Regions from separate parts of the Homo sapiens genome. Here region 1 is linked to region 2. The links are contacts of gene promoters, found by promoter capture Hi-C in blood cells and fetal thymus (Javierre and others, 2016). All regions are on one chromosome and are shown on one strand. Each heading gives the region's core, a stretch centred on a gene start or on the middle of the fragment in contact. The rest is flanking DNA. Distances are from core to core; before and after follow the strand shown.

Region 1 (5,643 bases), core at 618-3,117, 190 kb before region 2:
CTTTCTTACTCAGGCATGGACTCAAAAGCCCGCTCTGCACTTCTTGTTACCGATTAATGAGGTTCTTGACTTCGGTAACCTGCAGAGGTCTAGCTTCTCACACTCTTCAGCCCTTCCTTCTGTCATATGATCCTTCCATAAACTGTCCGGTATTTCCTGCAGCAATTTTTAAGTTTATGAGGTTATTGATTGTTTGTTTAACACTAAGATAAACATTTTAAAGTAGCAAAGGGGCTGTAAAATCATATTAAAAATTTTTAATAATATTGACATTTTAATATCTCATCATGTCTGGTGTGGTTTATGCAGTAGGTACTTTAAATGAATTTTTAAAAATATTTTCTCTTTTTCTTCTCTACAAGCCTTGAAAAAAGGCTGGCTTTCTGGCAGTGAGAATGGTAGAATGGGGCGGAGGCAGGATCTCCCTCTTGCTACTGTATTTCTCTCTGTCCCAGTACCCAGTACAGAGGAACACCTGCCAAGTAAGAGGTGCATCTCAAAACTGGCATGGGAAAGAAAGAAAACCAAAATAAATAATCAACACTTTAAAACATTTTGAAATCAATGATCTTAACTGTCTTCAGTCTTCTCTATACTTATCAGTTAGCCCATAAAATAATTTAAATATGTAAATTTGTCTGAGAGTAACTTCTCCAGAATACATAGAGCAGGACACATTTTAGTTAATATGTAAAGTATTTAATTGCAATTGACTGAACATAAAATCTCAACAAGATTCACTTACACAAGGAATAATCATGTATACTAACGCATTGTGGGGGTTCTGTAAGCATTTTTATTGTGTTTATTATGATTTCTGGTGAAAGGTAGATTATTGAATAACATGCTCTGAACAGTTCAAGTGTTTTGAAAGCGAAATATTTTTTCTAAATTAATTAAATCTTTCAATTATTTTAGTTGCCAGAATGGGTGAAGTATGCTTTTCAAACAGCATTTAGCTACCTGTTAAAACCAGTTTTACACATCAATACAGAGATGAAAATTACATAGAGCAACAGTTCTCAAAATAGGACAGCTAATGAATTCTGAACTGAAGGTTATAGATTATTTCCTTTTCATTAGAAAATATAAATGTACAATGTATATTGTATGTAAATTATAAATTAACTTAATTATCCTTTAAAAAACTATTATTGATATTCGTTTGCATTCCAATATGTGCTTTCTTGAGTGCAAGAGAATAAAAATGACAACAAATGTCTTCTGAGCATATATAGTCATCCCTTAGTATTAGGGTTGGGATATTGGTTCCAGGACAAGTCCCTGATATAAAATCACATAGTATTTACATATATCCTATGCACATCCTCCTGTATACTTTAAATAATCCATAGATTACTTATAATACCTAAAACAATGTAAATGTGAAGTAAATATGTGTTATACTATATTGTTTAGAGAATGAAAAGAGCAAAGTCATGTTCAGTACTGGCACAATTTTTTTCCTGGATATTTTTTTCTTTTTTTTTTCCCCTAGTATGCAGCTATTTTCCTAGATATTTTTTATCCAACCAGAGGTTGATTGAATCCTCAGATGTGGAACCCACAGATATGGAGGGCTGGCTGTACTAGATGTCAGATACTAGTTTAAGTATCTTTGTAGCAACCCAGTGAGGTAAGTACTACTAAAAACCCATTTTGCAGTTGAGGAAACCGTGGGATACTGAGATTAAGTACCCATACCAGCTGCGGCCAGGGTTCAAACTCACATGGACCAACTCAAGCCTCCATGCTTTTAAAGCTCCATTTCAGAATCTGAACCAGCACAAGGAATTACACACAAGGACACACTATGGGAACACACGTGCTTTGTATGTGTCATGAGAGGAAACTGTTGACAGGTTTATCAGTGAATGGGTAAAAACAGTTCCATCAAATCAATCCAGAAAGGTTGTTATGAATCATTTTGAAGTTTATTGTTCTAATGAAATCACTAAAAATAAAAATGTGTGCTTGGACCAATACATTTTTTAAACTATTCTGTGCTTTATTATAGGGAAAATATATATATATCCTTCAAGGAAAAGTGTCTAATTAAATTGCATTCATCACTATTAGACAATTAGGTTGAACAATTAAAAAAGAAGAAAACAACAATTTAAATGAAGCAGTATAATACAGTGTAATTGAAACACAGGACAAATTTAATCTCGTAAGTATAATTTAAAGAGATGTATCATGCCATTACACCTGATTCCCTCACACACATTTTTCAAATGAAAAATAAAGCCTGACATTTCATCAAAATCGTGCTATCCACTACATCTTTATTTTTTTAAAAAAAGAGGGTCAACACACATTCCTTGGTAGTGTCACATTGTTTATTAAGAAGCACAGAACAATGAAATTCTAGAAATTTTTCAGGTTCCAACCTTTTTGTGATACATTCTCCCATTCCAGAAGAAACCACTAACAGCCTGGCTTCCACAAGCACAGTAAAGCAGAAAATGGATGCAATCTGTCTGGGTTGTTCAAGCAAAATCCTGCTGTGATCTGGGTGATTCAGGCTAAAATAAAAAATCAGGTTTTTTATTTGGACTGTGTGTTTTTATCTGCCACCCCAGATGATAGCAGAGTCTGGGACTCAGTTACATAGTTAATTGCCAAAATTCTTTATTCGTTCTTCTCAGCAAAGATGTTCCCACTGGGCACTGCTCAAAACACTATCTCAGTTCTATCACTCTAGCAAAACAGCTCTGGGCTTCTGGCTTTCCTCGTGAAGAGCAACCAAAATTGAAACTCTGCTTACCTGGAGATATCAATCAGTACCTGACCACTCACTCACTATCGTTCTAAGGAAAATTGCCATGCTCTCAGCTCCTGTTACTTGAACAACCAACTCAAGTTCATACAACCTCCCCACCCTACGCCCACTTCAGATCACAGCTAACTGGACCATGGTGAGACACCCAACCAAAGATCAGCCAAACTATAGACTGGCCAGTGACCTAGGACATGACCAAATGTGAAAAAGATGAACTGGACCAATCATTCAAGCTCTGAGGGTATGAATTTGGAAACCTGCACTGAGGTCATGAGCCGCAAAGGACAAGGGCATGTCTCAGGGTGGCATGGAGGCCAAAGTAAGGAAAGCCTCCTAGCAAGTGAAGTTATGCAGGAACAGAGAAAGCCCATGAGCTGAGATAACACATAGGGGGCTCTGGACCCATGAGCACATTGCAGGGTCTGGCTATAGCCGCATGGTTGGCTATAGTCACTGACAGGGTTGTAGAATTTCCATAATTTCTTCTATAGCCCTTATTACCAGGTATCCAAGGGCACCTCTGGTGGTCTTTCCCATCAGAATAGTGTAACCTAAGAGTGTTTAGCTACCTTAAACATGCATCCAGGGCCTAGGTGCTGGTTGGTTGGTTGGTTGGTTGGTTGGTTGGTTGGTTGGTTGGTTTTGAGATGGAGTCTTGCTCTGTCACCCAGGCTGGAGTGCAGTGGCGCCATCTCGGCTCACTGCAAGCTCCGCCTCTCGGGTTCACGCCATTCTCCTGCCTCAGCCTTCTGAGTAGCTGGGACTACAGGTGCCCGCCGCCACGCCCGGCTAATTTCTTTTTGTATTTTTAGTAGAGACGGGGTTTCACCATGTTAGCCGGGATGGTCTCGATCTGCTGACCTCGTGATCCGGCCGCCTCGGCCTCCCAAAATGCTGGGATTACAGGCGTGAGCCACTGCGTCCAGCCCCAGGTGCTGGTTTTTATAGCAGAGGCATAAAATCCATCAGTAGTCCACTTTTCAGTGTCCAGATCTAGAGTGTTCGACAACGGAGCCATAATATGACCCATCCTCAATGACACTGTATACTGTCTTTTACTCAGTATGAAAGCCCTAGTTCAAGCTTATAGGGATAAAAATAGTCTCTTTCTTCAAATTTTTTTAAAACTATCTTTCTTCAAATGACAATGTCAAGCAGAAAATACTTTTGGAAGAAATCAAGAAATTTGAGCCTAGAAGTTCAAGACTAGCCTGAGCAATGTAGAAAGACCCCGTCTCTAAATAAAAAAAAAAAAAAAAAAAAAAAATTGTTTTAATTAGCTGGATGTGATGGCATATGTCTGTGGTCCCAGCTACCTGGAGGCTGTGGTGGGAGAACTGTTTGAGGTTGCAGTGAGCCACGTTCGTGCCGCTGCACTTTTGCCTGAGTGACAGAGTAAGACCCATCTCCAAAAGAAAAAATGCAATTGAACTTTACATTTCATCTGTAGAAAGGCTTTTAAAATCTGCTTTCATAAATTATGTGCCTCCTCTTTATATACACACATATATATAAAGCCATAAACATCTTATGTGAGGAAATAATTATGAAAAATTTTCTATTAGAAGAATAAATGGGCTATCATATTTACAGGAGTGACAAAGGAAGCAACATTGAAGAAGACAATGATTTAAAGCAAAAACATTATTGATACTGCTGAACCAAAATAGCTTTCTGACCCTTCTTACTCCCCATCTGCCCCTCAGTCTTCTCCCCACTCTTCCAGACATCTCGATCACCAGATACACAAATGCACACACTTCTCAGCAGGAAGCAAGGTCTCAAGTAGGATCCAGAGAAGGCTGGCCCTTCGGGTAGTTTACGTTTGTCAACTACTAAGGTGTACTTCTGAGCAGAAAGGAGAAATTCACATATTTCCTCTAAGGACAAGAGGCCAGTGGCCGGGCGCGGTGGCTCACGCCTGTAATCCCAGCACTTTGGGAGGCCGAGGCGGGTGGATCATGAGGTCAGGAGATCGAGACCATCCTGGCTAACAAGGTGAAACCCCGTCTCTACTAAAAATACAAAAAATTAGCCGGGCGCGGTGGCGGGCGCCTGTAGTCCCAGCTACTCGGGAGGCTGAGGCAGGAGAATGGCGTGAACCCGGGAAGCGGAGCTTGCAGTGAGCCGAGATTGCGCCACTGCAGTCCGCAGTCCGGCCTGGGCGACAGAGCGAGACTCCGTCTCAAAAAAAAAAAAAAAAAAAAAAAAAAAAAAAAAAAAAGAGGCCAGTGTCAGACAAAAATGATATTTAAATACAGCAGAGACTCTGTTGCTAAGTTTAACTTCCCAGCTTGCACAAACTCCGGAATTTTAGTGAAAGGAGCAGTGGCTTTACAGAAGAAAAATCTCTGTAAACCCCTCAGAACAAACAAAGTGAAGCCTTAATTCCTGTACCAGGTACCGATTAGCAGTGGAAAGCGCCTGCCTTGAGGCTTCCCGTTTGCAATGAAACCTAGTGGAAGAGGGTCCTGCCTATGGGTGCCTTTGATTGGCACCAGCAGCCGCAGCCTTGGCCCCCCAGCACTGGGGGCTTCTGTGAGCCCAGCAGTGATATTCAGCACCTGCCTGTTCACCTGGCCCCGCAGGAAGGAAGAACCAGAAAGAATTGCAGGTTGCAAACAGTTGATAGAAAGCAGAGATAAAATATTATTGTGTTATTGTTGTTTTCATCCTATTTTTATTCCTGGGCTGAGATATTCTGGGGAAGTTTGGATTATAAGAACTGCAGGCTGTATCTCCAAAATACCTCCAGCCTCCATCCCTTGTTTGTCCTACTCCCTGTCACAAGTCAGATCCTCTTCAGCTCTCAGCTGGACTTTTGCAATGGTGTCCTAATTGGTCTGGTTGCCGACAGC
Region 2 (5,609 bases), core at 2,384-4,883:
GCAGTCTTACTGAAAGCTATGTTTGTAAACTTCCCCCAAAGCATATCTCTTTCCTTCATGTTTGGGCTGCTCCACTTCAATTCTCATAATATTGCTGTTAGTATTTGTCACATTTTCCATCCCAGTAAGGCTGTGCTGGTGATCGCATTATAGGTAAATCCAACTTGAGAAGAGTGCAGCATTAAATTTTAGTGTTGATGAAGGAGTAATCTTTTTATGTGTCTGTTTTTCTTGATTGTAAACTCTTTTTTAATTTTTATTTTATTTTTGAGCCAGGGTCTTGTTCTGTTGCCCAGGCTGGGGTGCAGTAGTGCGATCAAGGCTCACAACAGCCTCAACTTCCTGGGCTCAAGTGATCCTCCCACCTCAGCCTCCCAAGTAGCTAGGACTACAGGCCATGCCTGGGTACTTTTTGTGTTTTTTGTAGAGACGGGGTTTTGCCATGTTGCCCAGTCTGGTCTTAAACTCTTGGGCTCAAGCGATCCACACACCTCTGCCTCCCAAAGTGGATTGTAAACTGTCAATTCTTCATTATGAGCAGGGTCAATCTCCAATTCATTTTTGTATCCTCTGTCCCTCCTACAGATTCTCAAAACACTGACTATTGAGATGGTGGCTGAAGTACTGATGGAAGCATTGGTGATGATGGTAGGAGTAGGTGCAGTGGTGTTGACACCAAAGCAAATTCCAAAAGTTACAAAGAATAACGATAGCTAATATTGATATGCACTTATTCTGTCAGACACTCTCTTGAGTGCCTTACATTTATTAACCGTGAAATCCTCAAACTACGTTATGCGATAAGTTTTATGATTCCATGTTTTAGAAGAAAAAACTAAAATGCTGATACATTAATTGTTTTGACCAAGATGTCACAGATGAGTGGTATAATCAGGATTGTTTGAATCTAGTTTTGAGTCTAAAACTAGTATCTCAGTCTCTACAGTATTTTACTTTTCCAGAAAGTTGCAGACTATCACTGCTTTGTAATTTAATGTTTTCAGTCTGGCATGGTAGGAAAAGTACAAAGCTTTTGAAAGAAAGATACAAGTCCCTGCTCCATCATTTCTAATCCAGTAAGCTATTTCCTCATCTTATATAGTGAGAAATTTCTGCCCCGCCTATCTAAATTATAAGATGATCTCAGATAAAGTATTTTGCAAACTGAACATTTAATTGTAATAAATGCTGCCTTTTCTGCAGCTACTTTTGTTCTCAATAAAATTTAGTTATTTTAAGCCAATTAAAATCTCATGCTTAATGGACATTTTCCTTTTGTAGGCAGTGACTTATGCTAAAAATTTCTATCCGAATCAATATTATTACTCAACTAATATGATTTCTTATTTATTGCTAAAGGGGAAAAATCTGGCAGAGGCCACCAGCTGGGGACATCACCAATAATGGGATAAGCTGATATATGCCCCTCCTGATGTGATACTCTGAGACATAACATCTCTTATGTTATTCCTACCCAAAAATCTAATCACGAAGGACAATCAGAGAAACTTACTCTATAAAACGAATGACCTGGACTCTGCAAAAATGTCAGTATCATCAAAGACAAAAACAAACAAACAAAAAAACAAACAAAAAAAATGTGAAGAACTGTTCCAGGTTTGAAGAGACTGGAGACATAACTAAATACAGTGTGTGATCCTGAGATGGAAAAAAAATTGGCAATAAATGGCATAATTGGGACAAGTGGCAAAGTTTTAGTAGGTCGTGTATATTAGATAATATTATTGTCACAATGCTAAACATCCCGATTTTGATCATTGTATGTTCGTTAGAGAATGCCCTTATTCATAGGAGATAACACACCAGAGTATTTACAGATGAAAGGTCATAGGGGACCAGGCATGGTAGTGCATCTCTGTAATCCCAGCACTTTGGGAGTCTGAGGCAGGTGGATCGCTTGAGCTCAGGAGTTTGAGACCAGCCTGAGCAACACGATAAAACTCTGCCTCTGCAAAGAACACAAAAATTATCCAGGCATCATGGCATGCCTGGAGTCCCAGCTACTCTGGAGGCTGAGGTGAGAGGATCGTTTGAACCCAGGGGTGTCAAGGCGGCGGCGAGCCGAGATCGTGCCACTGCACTCGAGCCTGGGTAACAAGGTGAGACCCTGTCTGAAAAAAAGAAGAAAGAAAGAAAAGGAGGGAGGGAGAGAACAAGAGAAAAAAAGGAGAGAGAAAGAAAGAATCATGATGGCTGTAATTTACTCTCAATGGGCTCACCAAAAAAAATATATATTAATAATATAAAAATACCACATACTTATGTATGGTTAAGACACCACATTGGGATAAAAATTAATAAAGTCAAATATGAAAATGTCAGATGAAAGAAAAAACATCTAGTAACTGGCCTCTGAGTTAGAAAGAAAGAAAAAATAGTTTTATTTGCACACAGTGGTACTTATTTTCCACAAATATTCCAGGAATCAGAGAAATCTAAATACAGGTCAGATGTAAAACAACAATCAAAGCTGCTGAATATTAGAAGAATTCCGATGGCACGTTGGAGAATCCAACTCATGTTTTGAATCCACTACATCCCCCAGGGATATCTATGGTCAGTACACAGCGTGGTAGGAAAAGTCCAAAACTTTGGAAAGAAAGAAAAATCCTCCATCATTTACTAATTGGGTGAGTTACTTGCGGTTAGCAGTTGAGCTGAACACAATTCCCCCATCTCTGGCAACTACTCCCAATACACACGATACCCGGTGGGCCCCGATGCCAAGGCCAAAGGGGGATTCTTAACCCAGACTGAGCCAGCCAGATCTTCTTGTGCGCCCAAGTATGCATATGCCCGTGTTCGTGTGTGTGCGCGCCCGTGTTTGTTCGCGTATGTGCCTGTTCGCGTGTGTGCACGAGCGTCTGTGTATGCGCGCATGTTCGTGTGTGTGTGCGCGCGCGCATTGGTACATCTAATACCTGAAAGTCCCCAGTACCTAAGTAACTCCTGGGAGTAAATGAGTAGATGCATTCAGGAACAACTGAATTACCAACGTTTCTGGATTACTTCGCAACGAAAGGGCCGGTGACTCTACTCCGGGCTGGCCCTCCTCCTGCCACATCAGATTTTCCAGAAATTGCTCCGAAGCACACTTCAGTAGCTAAGCAGGGAAAGTTAAATGAAGGAATTCTTTGCTCCCAGGGGTGGCGGGGAGGAACTGCCCGGCCACAGTCTTTCGAATGTCACCGGTTTAAATGGTCAGAGAAGCAGAGTGGCACAACCTAAAATTCAGACGCGCTCCGCAAACTCCGGTCCTGCCCATCCCCTCCTGAAATCAGCGCCCTGGCAGTCCCAGGCCACAGCCCTCGCGGGCACAGAGCTGCTCTGATTCTGCCCACGCCTCCGGGAGGAAAAGGGTGCAAATCAGGGGCGCCTCGGCCCCTCCTGGGTCGTCTATCCCCAGGGCCACCCCCGCGCGCGGCCGGCGGCTGGGACCGTACCTCGGGCGCTGGCGAAGCGGCACCCAGCGCGATATGGCTGGTGCAGTCCAGGCTCATGACGACCCGAGCCCGGGGGCGCGCTCGGACCCGGAACCGGCCCTGAGGAAGCGGCGGCGCCGGGAGCCGGCGGGTGGCGCGGGTGTCTCCTCGGGCAACGGGTAAACACCGCGGGGACGCGGCGGCGCGCGGCTGCGCGCGAGTAGGGTGGCCCGGCCGCAGGAGGCCGGGGTGGACCCCGAACCCCCGAGCGTGGCCTCCGTGGCGAGGGCCTGCAACTGAGCGGCCGAAACTGCCAGGGCGACCTGGGGGGAGTCGGCGGGGATAACGGTCGGTCCTCCCGGTGGGACTCTGCAGTGAATGCAATTCCAGGCCTCATCCTTATGTCAGCGATAAATACAGCCAGTGGGCACTGTGAACGGTGCTGGCGCGAGTGAGGCATAGGAAACTTCACAAGGGTGAACGGAGCATTTATTTAGCACACACTGTGTGCAAATGTGTCTGCGAGCGTGCAACCTGTGCAGGTCCGGGTCCTGCGCTTGGTTTAATACTCAGCTGTCCCAGTCTTGACGTTTTTAGGAAGTTTTGAACAAGGTGTCCTGCATTTTCATTCTGTACCGGGGTCCACAAATTATGTAGCCTGCCCTGGTGTGCGTTCTTTCATTTCACCTTCTCAACAACCCTGCCTGGAAGTACGGGTACTAGTAATACCAGTGTTAGTAACAGCCACAGCTGCTCATTATGAAATACTCGTGCTCGTCCATGCACTGTTCTAAGTGCTTCCCACGTATGATCAATCTCCTTAAATGAAACAAGATTATGAAGTGGATGTTAGAATAATCCATCTGCAAGACAAGGCAACAGTCACAGGGAAATAAAATAAAATTTCCAAGATGTACAGGGTAAGTGGTAGAATGAAGATCAGGCTCCAGATCATAACACTAAAGCACAGAGAAGATGAGTAACTTGTTTAAGGTCCCACAATTTGTAGCAGAATCTGAAAATGGAATCTGCATTCACCTCACTTTAAAGCTTTTGGTGGGCCAGGCGCGGTGGCTCACTCCTGTAATCCCAACACTTTTGGGAGGCTGAGATGGGTGGATCACTTGAGGTCAGGAGTTTGAGACCAGCCTGGCCAAGAAGGTGAAACCCTGTCTCTACTAAAAATACAAAAATTAGCCGGGCGTGGTAGCGGACACCTGTAATACAGCTATTTGAGAGGCTGAGGCAGGGAAAATCATTTGAACCTGGGAGGCAGAGGTTGCAGTGAGCCAAGATTGAGCCACTGCACTCCAGCCTGGGTGACAGAGCAAGAATCTGCCTCAAAAAAAAAAAAAAAAAAAAAGAAAAAAGCCTTTAGTAGACTCCTATGCTGTTTGAGACACATGAAATCAAACAGGTGGGAGGATTGCTTGAGGCCAGGAGTTTGAGACCAGCCTGGGCAATACAGCAAGACTCTATCTCTACAAGTTTTTTTTTTTTTTTTTTAAATTAGCCAGGCATGGTGGTGCACACCTGTAGTCCTAGCTACTCAGAAGGCTAAGGCGGGGCCAGGTGAGGTGGCTCATACCTATAATCCCAGTACTTTGGGAGGCTGAGGCAGGTGGATCACCTGAGGTCAGGAGTTCGAGACCAGCCTGGCCAACATAGTGAAACCCTGTCTCTACTAAAAATACAAAAATTAGCTAGGTGTGGTGGCACATGCCTGTAATCCCAGCTACTTGGGAGGCTGAGGCAGGAGAATCGCTTGAACCTGGGAGGCGGAGGTTGCAATAAGCTGAGATAGCACCACTGTACTCCAGCCTGGGTGACAGAGCAAGACGCCATCTTAAAAAAAAAAAAAAAAAAGAAAGCTAAAGCAGGAGGATAGCTTTGAGCCCAGGAGGTCAAGGCTGCAGTGAGCTATGATCACCACTGCACTCCAGCCTGGGCGACAGAGCAAGAGCATGTCTCTAAAGACAACACAAAAAGGCAAAATCAGAGCTATGGCAGCTTTTCTTGGATTCCATCAGTCATCCTATGTGCATTCATATTGACCCTGAGGATTTCTTCATCTGGACAATGGCTTTTGAGCTCACGGTAACTTTGCCATATATCTAATCCAGAATCATCTCAAGGCTTTCACTTGATGCACCGTTAAAGAAAAAG

What was found. Contacts are between HindIII fragments. The CHiCAGO score rates a contact against its expected background, and 5 or more counts as called.
Region 1: a fragment that was not itself captured here is called in contact with the fragment with the promoter of CCDC170 in region 2 in 2 of 17 cell types (M0 macrophages and M1 macrophages); the score reaches 7.0 in M0 macrophages.

Annotation. Positions count from the first base shown.
Region 1 is chr6:151,684,474-151,690,116 of GRCh38, reverse strand. It overlaps a transcript of ESR1 not described here. Among named protein-coding and RNA genes, the nearest start is that of ESR1, 120 kb to the left of the region's middle. The HindIII fragment of the contact is 4,007 bases long and covers 1-3,870 here.
Region 2 is chr6:151,492,041-151,497,649 of GRCh38, reverse strand. CCDC170 (coiled-coil domain containing 170) reads right to left here and starts at 3,633. Exons shown (of 11, transcript NM_025059.4): 1 at 3,465-3,633. The coding sequence starts at 3,521. It overlaps LOC124901436 (a long non-coding RNA gene), which reads left to right. Exons shown (of 2, transcript XR_007059817.1): 2 at 586-1,243. The HindIII fragment of the contact is 3,463 bases long and covers 1,033-4,495 here.